Regions from separate parts of the Homo sapiens genome. Here region 2 is linked to region 1. Evidence: promoter capture Hi-C in human tissues and cell types (Jung and others, 2019). All regions are on one chromosome and are shown on one strand. The core of a region is centred on a gene start or on the middle of the fragment in contact, and the rest is flanking DNA. Distances in the headings are between cores, read along the strand shown.

Region 1 (5,851 bases), core at 2,467-4,966:
CCCCATTCCTGCAAATCTGCTTGAGGAAAAACTATGAAGAACCTTCTCCCTCAAACAACAAATGGAGTTACTAAAGTGATAGAGGGATCTCTCATTAGCAGCTTTTCTCTGTTTGTGTTGAAATGTGGTTAATGCTCATACTTCTCACTCCTTATCTCTCTAGAAAGGGGAAGTTTAATAGAGCTATAATTTAGTAGTGTGGGGTGTAACCTGCTGTTAATATCTGCCAGGTCACTGGAAGATCTTCTTCATTATATTCTTAGCATTTTGTGACAACTTTTGAACAGGTTCTTTAAATAAATGTGTATTCCCAGATGCTTTAGGGATTGAGATATCCTTTTCACACAATGCTAAAAAGAAAGATTCTCTAAATTCCAAAGGGCATTCATTCTCCCCTTAATTCTCCTCTCCTCTCCTTTTGGTTTTCTTTTCACTCAATAGTTAGACCAGTGCACCTTTCACAAGAATACACTCAAGTTTCAAGATCTGTACCTTCTTTAACTTATGTACATGTATGTTTATAGGGGTCTGGTTGAAGAGAAGGAGGTCAAGGCAGAAACACCTAGCTCCCAGAGGGTTACTTGGAGGACCAGAGGTTTTAGGAAATACGGTGTGTCTCAATCTGTCTGCAAGTTTCCATACCAAAGTGAGTAACCATGGATAAGGAGTAAATTGCTGTTTCTAACTTTTAACTTACAAATAAGCACTCAACATTACACTTTTCAGGAGACTTAGGGTTGGTTTTGTTGACGTGACCCATCTGTTAGTTAAAAACATGTTTTAAGGAGTTTTTTATTTTAACTCATAGTATAGCTTTTAGAATTATGACTAGCAAATTACTGTGGGTTTTTAAATATGGGGCAAACCTGAAATCATTTTCATCATTAGAACCAAGCTGTTCTTTTCTGCTAAAGAAGGAGGGCTAAGAAGAAGGGCATAGTAGAGATGGATCTTATACTCTCATTGATTAAAAAACAACAAACAAATAAAAAGACAAGAGCAGACATGGATTTTTGCTCTTCCCCATCCCCTCATGTTCACATAAATGAGGGTTGGGAGAAGTTGCGTTTCGTAACAGAGCTCCTAATCTTGCTTTTCTCCTAGGGCACTTCTGTGATTCCTCCAGCTTCTCTTTCAAGTCCCTTTTCACCCCAATCCTCTTCTCCTTGATTTTTATTTCATAAATAGGAATAAAGTGGCATATGTTTTCTGATCATGAAAAGGATATCATTTTATAATTTTGACAGTAGTAGAACATCTAAAATGCACATTTCTGTAGGATCAGCAAGCCCTCAAAATCAGTAGAGCTCCCTTCTTGTGTCTCTAGTGAAAGCGGCAGCTTCTCATCTTATCTTTTCTGAGAAACATTAAGAAGTCCTCCCAAGTCTGCCTCAATGGCATTGGTTGGGTATAGTCATGGACTTGATCAAGAGGCAGCTATATAATGGCAAAAAGAGGAGACTCACGTGAAGTATCCACATCCCATGCAGAAGGGGAGATTTGGGGGCGACTACATGAAACTTCGACACTGATTTTTCTAAAAGCTTAAGAAGAGCAGTGTCATCTTGCTTGGTATGTACCCTATGGAGAAAGGATAGCTTTGCTCCTGGGAAACTTAGATCATGAGCAATCTAAGATGATCTCACTCAGTTATTTAGGGGCTTGAACTTGATGGGACATAGGGAAGGCAGTTACTGTTTAACGGTCCATAGCTGGTCCGGTGGATTAATTGCCAGAGAAAGCAGAAGTAAACCCTTGGAGAATACTTTTATCCCCAAACTTAGGAATAACTGGAAGCTCATTTAAACTGGGAGCATTTCCCCCTCCACCCCAAGAAAAGATAACTTCCCTCAAGGGGATCTGGTGAATGAAGCAGCGTATTTTCATCCTTGTGATAATGGGTGTGAGTCAGGCACTACCATAAAAGAAGAATTAACTTGAATGTGCCACATACTTGGTCTGGCCTTGTCCCATACCTGTACTCTTGTCATGGTTGATTACCTATGTGCATCAGATATAAAGCAAGCAGTCTGCATTGTGGCATGAGATAAAAGGTATGTTAATATGCTCAGGTCACATACTATCTTGGCCAATAGTAATTTTATATAATTTGCTTAAAGGAAACTGCACTTCTTGCAATATTTTTTTCCAATGAAGAAAAATTTAACGTGACAGAAGCTTTATATATAACTCTTGCATTTGAGTAACAGCATTGAATCCTCTCCATCTCAAGCAGAACTTTTAAATATTTTTATTACTTTTGATATGCAAAAGCTAAGGAGAAATGGTTTGGAAGACCTAAGTTAAATTTCTAATGAGTCTTGTTTCTTTAATAGGGGAGAATTTCATACAGCTTCGGTGAGTTTTTTCTTTCCACATGAGATAATATAAACAAACAAAAAAATAAAAAAGTGAAACATTTCTCTTCTTACTTTAAGAACCTTAAGGGCTAAAAGAGTGGTTTGGTTTCCTGACTGGTACTTTTGGTTTGCCTTCTCTAAGTGGTCTTGAGCAATTCCCCAGAGGAAACATTTGAAGAGGGTTTTTCTCCCACTTGAGAGAGTTTCATCCCACACAACCCACAGAATTTGATGGCAAACTTCATGGACCAAGTGTCTGGTTTTACAGAAGTGGCTGTGGAGTATGTTTTTCCTTTCACAGGTGCACATTTATTCTACCTTAGGAATAAGAAGAGATCATTTTCTTTTAAAGAGGGTAGCTTAAACACTGAATATCTCTGATAATTGGATGCCAGTCAGGTAGGTTGTGATTTACTAAATGCGGGGGAAAAAAGGTGGAAAGAAGGATTAAAACTTCCAAAGCCTTTCTCGCTGATCTTTCTTTACAACCATCTGGTGTGCACAGAAGTATTGTATAATCTGGCCTGTATTATTCTCTTACTGTGAAACATATTGAAACACTTTATGTTTAGGTGTGTGTACAGAAATTCATGAAGTTCTTTTATACACTTTCTTAGTTCCATCGTAATTCTCATTTTAGGATGTCGTGAAAAGATAGCCTGGTGAGAGAGCACATTCTACCCTGGCTTGTGAATTTGGATTTGTTCCTTCCTATCTACCAGCCACCTGATTACTTACTGTCCCCGTGCAAAGGGCACCCGTTCACATCATTTTTTTCCAAGCGCTAAAACCTGGAAAGATATTTTTTTAAAGGACTCACAGAAGCTGTCTTGGGGGTTTGGAAAACATCACAAAATTGTTAGCAGACCTTTTGACTGTGCTATTTTTAGGAAGTTAACTGTGTTCTTTTAAAGTACATTTTTGACAATGGGACAACGTTTTCCTTGCCCCCACTGATGTGTGAAATATGTACAGTGAAAAACGTCAGTACAACACCCCAAACAGATACATTTTAACCTAAGCAACAGTCAGCAACAGGAGAAAAAGTGATTTAAAAAGAGAAAGGTTTCGCAATATTTATGCTGCTGTTTCTTCCCTGAAGGAGCTTTTATTTTACCATTCAAACAGAAGTTTGTTTTCAAACCAGTTGCTAGTTAAAGGAGCAGCGGATCGCGCATCCGTAAGAATCAGCTCTAACCAAACAGCAAACGCGTTGGCCAGAGGGTGACTTATTCCCCCATAGCAACCCCTGGTAGGTGAGCTGCCTGCAGAAGTGCTGTCTTACCTTGAGCACGTAAGATCAGGGAGAGAGGCTCGCTGGCTCCCACGGAGAGGATCGGGGAAGGGCTGTGATCCGCTGCTGGTAACATGCACTTGGCTTTTATGGGCAGGTGGGAGGAGCTGCTCCTCATAGTAGGTGGGCAGGGAAGGAGCGGCGGGCGGGCAGCCTCTGGAGGAGCTGGACACTCTTCTCTGGGGAGGGGCGGGCAGAGACTGGAGCCCGCAAGGCGGAGGAGAGACGACGGGGCGGGGGGAGGGGGAGCGCGGTCACAACGGAGGAAGGAGTGGAAAAGGGAGAGAGAGGGAGAAGGGAAAAAAGAGAGGGAACTAGAAATAGTGAAAGGGATCTTGACCACAGATGGGGAAAGGTGGGGGAGAAAATGAATAGCAGAGACAGAGAGAGAGAGAGTGTCTGGGAGGAAAGGGGAATCGGAGTATTTTCCGTTTTTGCATGACATTTTTTGGCAGAGGGAGTTGTGGGTGATTGTGACTTTTGAAGGTGTTTTCTGTGAATTTGGGAATTTGAAAAGCTACATAGCGGTCCGGGAGAACTGAAGGGTTTCTAAGCGAGGCAAGGGAGGTGAAGCTGGGCGTCCGGGCAGCAGAGCCAAAGTTCAGGGTGGACCCGGACCTGGAGCTGGAGGCACTGACATGGCCTGGAGCCAGGCAGCCCCCAGCCCTCAGCCCCGTCCCACCGCCCGCGGGTGAAAATCGCCCCATCCCTCTCCCTCCAGGCAAGGCTTATTTGACAAGGAAGTTCCTGCGCTGCCTGTCCTCTGAGCATCCAGAGGCCCCTTTTGAGACTTCGGCAGCATTAAAGTAAATCCAGCAACGGGGAGGATTCGCGTGGACTTGCTTGTGGAGACAGGAACCTCAGAACCAGCCTGGGTCTTCCAGCATCTGCTTATGTAACGTAGGATTTCAGAGCTCTCTGCCCTCTGGTTATTTTCGGTATTTAAAACACTCTCATTCCTAACAATCGGAAAACGTCTTGGTGCCACAGTTCTTTCTCAGTGTGTCTTAAACATTAAGAGAGGATTCAACCAACAAGTGGCTAAAGGATCAGTCTGAAATTACTAAGAAATGCATTCAGAGAAAGAAAAACAAGCTCCTTTCGCTGCTGAGTGGTGACTCACTTCCTAGCCCAAGCCTGATTTTTGCCACCAAAGGAATTAAAGCATTTTAAAAGAGAACCTGAGACTTGGGGTGGGAGATACAGTACCGGGAGGGGGAAAAGGCGGGAATGGGAGGGGGGAGGGATGGGTAGGCTGGAAATAATAAAGGAACGAACTTGTACTGAATATGTATATATGTACTTCATTCAGTGTTCACCGCAACCTTATGAGGTAGGTATGATTCATATTGTGCAGATTTATTTATTTTTTTTTTAATTTAAAGAAAGGCATCTCTAAGGGTTTAAATAACTAGCTCAAGCTAGCGAGAGGGGGAGCCACAGCTAGCGAGCTTGCAAACCTTAGGCACTCTTCAGTACACCAGGCTGCCGTATAGAACACCTAGGTTCGTCTCAGGTTAGATCCTGATGTCATTGGCTGGTAGCAGGCTCCAAGAGAAGGAAACTTGATGGTGAAGAGCAGAATTACTCAAACTTAGCACTACTGAAACTTTCGGGAGAATATTTCTCTGTTGTAGGGACCTCTCCTGTGCACTGTAGAATGTTAAGCAGTGTCCGTGGCCTCTACCCACCAGATGCCAGTAGCAGTACCCACTCCGCACTCGCCACCCAGCTGTGAAAATAAAAAATGTCTCTAGATTTAGCCAAATGTCGCTGAGGGACAAAATCCCCTCCTCTTCTTAAGAACTATTCGTCTAAAAAAGGCCCACAACTATAAAAAAGCATTTTAAAAGAATCTATTAAGAAAATACCCAGTAGTGCCATTTGGATAATAATAATACCTACGTCCATATGTGCCGAGTTTACACAGCACTTAGGTTTTTACATACGTATTTCCATCTGTTAGCTTCAAGAGCTCAAAGCCTCAATTACTTCCTTTGTAACTAAGCTTATTCTCAATTGGTTACGTCTGGGAGTCAACGAAATAAACTCCCATGTGCCCGGGATATGAGGCAAGAACAATCATATATGAAATAAAAAATTTAAAATTTTTATCGTAAACACAAATTTGACACCAGAGTTTTCAAATTTACTCACGATGTTTTGCATTATTGATTATTCGCCTTTTTATAATTTT
Region 2 (5,969 bases), core at 3,335-5,834, 160 kb after region 1:
AGGCATTGTGACACTTTAGGGGGTCCAGATTCCTCTTTGGAAACAAACAGACCTGATGTGTGCCACCCACAAATCCAGCTATTGAGGAAGGAAGGGATGTAGCCACAAACAAAAAATCTGCAGAACTATTTCCTGGCAAGAAATAATGAATGTGGTTTGGTGTTCCCTTGAGCTCCCCCAGGGCCCCAGTGGTATGAAAACAGTATATCTCAAGTGACTTAGAAAGGAAGTGTGTCTGAAATGTACTTTAAATTATTCCTGTGGGTTTGTGTGCCATCATGTCTTCACTCTACATTTTTTTCCAAGTATACTTTATTCCTGAAGCTTTTGGAATTTGCATCCCAAAACCCATATGCACATTATTTTGATTTTATTTAATTAGGTGTAATCATAGATTAATATAATTGTCCATAGCATTTACTAAAGAAACTATTGCCACATTTTAAAAAATACTGTAAAATGTAATGGTTACATTTTGCACACTGATTAAAAGTTGTTAGTATTTCAAACAAATATGTCCAAATCAAAAATGGAAATAACTTATATTAACAAAAAATACCTTCCCAGGAACATCTGGCCCTTTATTTCTTTTGCTTTAACTGTGCAATAGGGATAATGACAAGAAACCTTAGAGTATGCCACCGTATCTAAACCATTGGCTGTTAAGAAGTATTGATGATCATTATATTAGTTAAATACAATTAGGAAGTAAACAGGACCTATTGAAATCACGTTCAATTTTGTGACTTGTATTAATTCAACAGATAAAAAATTTGGTTAGCTTTGTTTTATTTGAACTCACTCCAGTTAATAAATTTTAAAGATTTTTCTTCTCTCCTATTAACTAAATCACATTTCTTAATTTCTAGTACAAAATCCTAACTTCACATTTCTGAACTAGGGGGAGAAAATCTAACTAGAAGTCAAAGGATGGGAACATTCTAAACTCAAATTGAGTCTAATTAAGTTTTCTATTACATGTGATAACCCAGCATTGATTGTGGTGATAAGCATAACCACTGTGGCAGGGTTTGGGCAGATCTTGTTTTCTTTGAACTGAGAGAGATAAAAGCACATCTCTGTGTCCAGCTTTTGTTTACTCAGATCTCATCTTTGGATACTCATTTCTGACCCTTTAGAGTCAATTCCAGATAAAAATTATGACACAGATATCAAGTTAAAACACAGATTTTGGGCAAACCCTGTCCTCAGCTGTGCTCATACAGTCCTTATGGCCTTGGTAGGAAACCTTGCAGGCAAACCTGCAGACAAGATTTGGCCTGGGGTGGCTAGATCTGAATGGCTGTCATGCACAGAATTAGAAATTGCTTAGTTCATTGTGAATTCTCAAATTATTCATCGTGAGCATCTTTTTGCTGGAGCTGCCAGCTGAAACTAAAAAGTCAAAAGGGACTCCGTAATCTGTTAAATGATTTTAAGCTTAAGGAGAAGCATCCAACTTCTTAAGTTGGATGGGAATCTAGTTGTAAAAACAGGGTATGTCTCAACCTATGTCTATTCTTAGAGTCTGCTAAGATTAGTACCTGTCTGAAGTCTCTAAAGGAAGGATTGTCAGTTTTGTCTGAATAAAAAGAATTGGTCCTGAAACTATGATCTTTGGAGGCAATTGAGGCTGGGGGAGGAGAAAAAAATTAGCTTCTCATAAACACAGCCATTCCTAGTCTTCTTGGATCCCCTTACACAGATGGCTATCCATGAAATTGTTTCTTCCACTGGTTTATTTTTCAGTGTCATAGACGAAAACACCTGTTCAAAAAGCTTATTAACAATAAGCTGCCAATGGGCCTTTGAATGTTTTAGACAACAGTGTAAGGAAGAAAAAGCAACATCTTTTTTTCACACATCACAAGGTTAATGGCTGAAAAAAATACAAATTAACAAGACAAAAGTATACAAATGTATTTAATGTAAGTTTTATGTGACATGGAACCTTCACAAATGAAGACCCAGTGAAACCTAGAAACCTGTGTATTTTTATGCTTAGGTTTGATGAACAGTGGATAGTCATGGGGAAGTCTGATTGAACAGAGGGGTTATCACCTAATGGTAATAAACTGGGGTCAGGGAACTTAGCAAGTCCTGTTCATAATCTTCTTTGTGATCCTGTGTCTTCAAAGATAAGAACATTCCTATCTTCCAAGTATTGGCTGGGCACCTTTCAAATAAGGTGCATGAAAACTTCCTCTATTTTAGAGGAAGGTTGAAGAACTCTTTTATGTCCTTCTTTAGGGGAAAAGGGTAGGAGTATGTGAGAGAGACATTCCAGCTTCAGCTGTTTTCTCAAAATGCCATGGTGCCACATTTTGGGGTAGTGTGTCCTAAACTCCATCAATATTCTTAAAGAGAATTCTTAATTAAGAGCAGTCTGCACTAACATTTTATAGATTCAAAAACGTTTCCATTGACCTATTCCATTGGGCACTACTACTGGATTGAAATAATATATTAAGGTAAGTGTACCAGTTAAGATAGTCTAAGTAATGCTTGGTTAGAAAAAAGCAACAACTAAAATTGTAAAGGTTTAAAACATTTGCTAGTACCTCATGTCCATGGTGGGTTGGCTTGTGGGGGTGGGAGGGTGGGAAAGAAGGATGTGTTCTACATTGTCTTTTGTCAAGAACCCTGATAGGAGAAACTAAATGTCCACACTGCCATAATGTCAAGTCAAAAAAAAAAAAAAAAAAAAAAAAAGAAAGAAAGTCAGGGTGGGAGGAAATGATGCAGAGCAGAAAGGAAGAAAGCAGATGACATAGTGATTCATAAAGCTTCCTCTCAGAAGTGACACACATCACTTCTGCTCACATATCATTGGCCAAAGATATTTATATGGTTACACCTAACTTCAAGGAGCAGGGAAGTGTAGCCCTGTCAATTTCTAAGAAAGAAAACTAAGTACTTTGGTGAACAATGTTAATGACTACCAGACTGAACTTTAATTCATGTGAACCCCACTAAATTCTTACGTGTATTTAATTAAGAGTTTATCTGTCAAGTCCCTATGTCTTACAAAGACAGCTAGAGGCAGCTAGTCTTACACCCATACTTCTGGTAAATTGTCCTCTCCATAGACATGGAAATTAGCTTCAGTGTAGCAGCAAAGCTTAAAGGAGCAGGTGAGTAGTTAGCTAGGAGTATGCCACCATATCTAAGCCATTGGCTATAGAGTATCATCTATGGGATCATGCATAGAAGGGGCCAGGGAATGAGTTAAGTACAAGAAGGCACCCTAGTATAGTAAAAAATAAGACAGGGGTTGAAGTCAGAAGACCAGCTTTAGCCTCTAACTTTGCAGTTTACTGCATGACTGATTATGTGTCCATTGTTTGTCCTCTAGGAGCCTTAGTGTCCCCATATGAAAGATAAAAAATCAAATGGATATTACATGCAAAATACCTTGTGACTCATAATCACTATGTAACCATCACAGAAAGGAAGAATACATTATTCTGAACCCTGGGCTTGTCTGAGCTGTGCACAGATTTTAATGAATCCCTGATTCTGTCTCAGAAAATAGAATTACTATTTGGCATGGTACCAATCCATTTCTTTCTTTTTTTGAGACAGAGTCTCGCTCCGTCACCCAGGCTGGAGTGCAGTGGCTCAATCTTGGCTCACTGCAACCTCTGCCTCCCAGGTTCAAGCAATTCTCCTGCCTTAGCCTCCCGAGTAGCTGAGACTACAGGCGCGTACCATCTCATTCAGCTATTTTTTTGTATTTTTAGTGGAGACGGGGTTTCACCGTGTTAGCCAGGGTGGTCTTGGTTTCCTGACCTCGTGATCCACCTGCCTCAGCCTCCAAAAGTATTGAGATTATAGGAGTGAGCCACCACACCTGGCCTCCATTTCATTTTTATGTAAGTCAGCAACTCTAATTTTAAAAGTACAAAATGTAATACTAATAAAATGATATTTTATGATACTTTACAGAATTATTTCGTACCATAGCACCCAGAACCCATATCAACTGCCATCATCAAACAGAGAAAAAGACCCTAAGAAACTCAGTGAGTGATAAAATAACAGAACAGAAAACAAACTTCCTGAACACAGAAAATGAAGTCTCCCTGAAGGAAGGCAAAAGATAAAACAGAGAGACTAAAATGTAAATTGTTATATCTTTATGCCTGATGTTATAACATTAGAAGCCTATACATTATGTGCAACCACCTCCCTTTATTATATCACACATTTTCAGTATTCAGGAGCTCTTTTCTCATTCAGTAAATATTATTGTGAGCTTAGCAACTGTAAATTTAGGTTTGGAAATATTTTTGGTCGTTTTAAAAGCTTTAAGTCTTCCTTTCTTTCCTTCCTCCTTTCTCTCCCTTCCTCTCTTAGTTCTTTGTACATTTATTAACCATAGAGCTGCTTCGTGTCACGTGGAGTGCTGCTCTTAGGGATATCAATGTGCTTAGTGTATTTCCCTGCCCTAGAAGGATGCAGAAGCTAGAGATGGTAATGAGGTAGAGGCTGTAATATATGTATAAATAGGATGTTACAGGACCAAGAAAAAGAAAGTAACTGTGTTTAGGGAGGTCAGGAAGGGATTCACAGAAAAGGTGGCATTTGAGTTGAGTTTACTATGTGTGAAAGGTAGGGTAAGAACTTCTGTGTAGAGAAAACAGCTTGTGCTAAAGCACAACGATGAGAAATAGCCTCATGCATCTTGAACCTCACCTGATTAAAAGTAGCTCATACAGAGGATATTTGTGACAAGATGAGATTACACAGATAGGCAAGAGTCTGACCATGGTGGTCTTTATGGGCAATAGCCAAGGAGTTTATGGGGTGTTCTAAGTGGACTTTAAATAGGCAGATTTTAGAAAGAATACTAACATTGTTACTTAGTAAAAATGCACACATTACCCACAAGTGGGAAAAATACTGTTTACTTTCAAGTTTATAAATTTGTGAATTACTATATTAATCTATGTGTTGATATCTAAAATAACCTTTTACTTTGTCTCAACAACATTAGCAATATTACCTTCATAAAGCAGGAAATATCCTGTCCTGATCTCCTTTGGAGTAATTTCATAAAAAACATTGGTCTCTTTTAGGGAACCTAATCTACATACCCAGTATTTTAACTCCAAAGCATTTGAGTGTGATTCGTTTATTGGAGTTGTGCTTGACTTTAGTGTAATCATTACAAACACAGACACAGGGAATGTTCTTGAGATTTTTCCATTGTGTAACTCAGTGCTAAAAGCTTTCAAACAAATAAAGCTGGCATGCAATTTCTTTCTCTTTCCCATGCCATCTCAGTGGTGCCAACAACCCTAAGTGCTTAACAAGCTAATTTTTGATAGTCGAATAACCAAAAGTAATAGTTCTATGGTCTTAATTTTTCACAGTGAGTTCAACTTTGTTGCATGTTGTGACAATAAAGACCTTTGGAAAAAAGTAAGCATAAACTAATGACCATGATTCAGATACACTTGCAAGCTGGAAACATTTTGGTCATTGTAGCTGGATGCCTTAAAAGAAAACTCAGTAATACATGCTCTCTTTTCTGTAAGTGTAACATTTACACATTTATATCAGACTCATAGATTAGAAAATGCTTATAGTAAATTTAAATTGAATATAAACTATACTACTGGGATATTTTATTTGAGTATGCAACCAAATATCTTGATTATCTGTATGACTACGATAGTAACATGCACTCTATTTTTAAATTAAAAATGGATAAGACCAATAAGATGGGTAATATTTTCTGAGCAAAACATCAAATGATTGTCCTTGGATTCTGACATCACTAGGACATTATACCTGGTTCTATGGAATGGTATATAAAAAGCAAAATCTGATTTAGTGAGTAGAGAAAGAACACTTGAAAGTAAAGTTTAGTTGAATATAGGCCGAAGCAGATCAAAATGCTGTACGATGATGACATAAGCTTAACCTGACTTTTTCTTATCTCTGTAAGGCTTTTGTTTACT

The links. The method cuts DNA at HindIII sites, captures the fragments that hold promoters and counts their contacts. A contact is called where the count stands out against the background at its distance.
Region 2: a fragment that was not itself captured here is called in contact with the fragment with the promoter of COL8A1 in region 1 in 1 of the 25 tissues and cell types used here (aorta).

Annotation. Positions count from the first base shown.
Region 1 is chr3:99,636,459-99,642,309 of GRCh38, reverse strand. It overlaps COL8A1 (collagen type VIII alpha 1 chain), which reads right to left and starts at 3,716. Exons shown (of 4, transcript NM_020351.4): 1 at 3,646-3,716. It overlaps LOC124909401 (a long non-coding RNA gene), which reads left to right and starts at 3,630. Exons shown (of 2, transcript XR_007095981.1): 1 at 3,630-3,723; 2 at 4,376-4,942. The HindIII fragment of the contact is 6,546 bases long and covers 1,862-5,851 here.
Region 2 is chr3:99,479,218-99,485,186 of GRCh38, reverse strand. All of the region lies in intron 1 of LOC105374007 (a long non-coding RNA gene), which reads left to right. Among named protein-coding and RNA genes, the nearest start is that of COL8A1, 160 kb to the left of the region's middle. The HindIII fragment of the contact is 3,259 bases long and covers 2,955-5,969 here.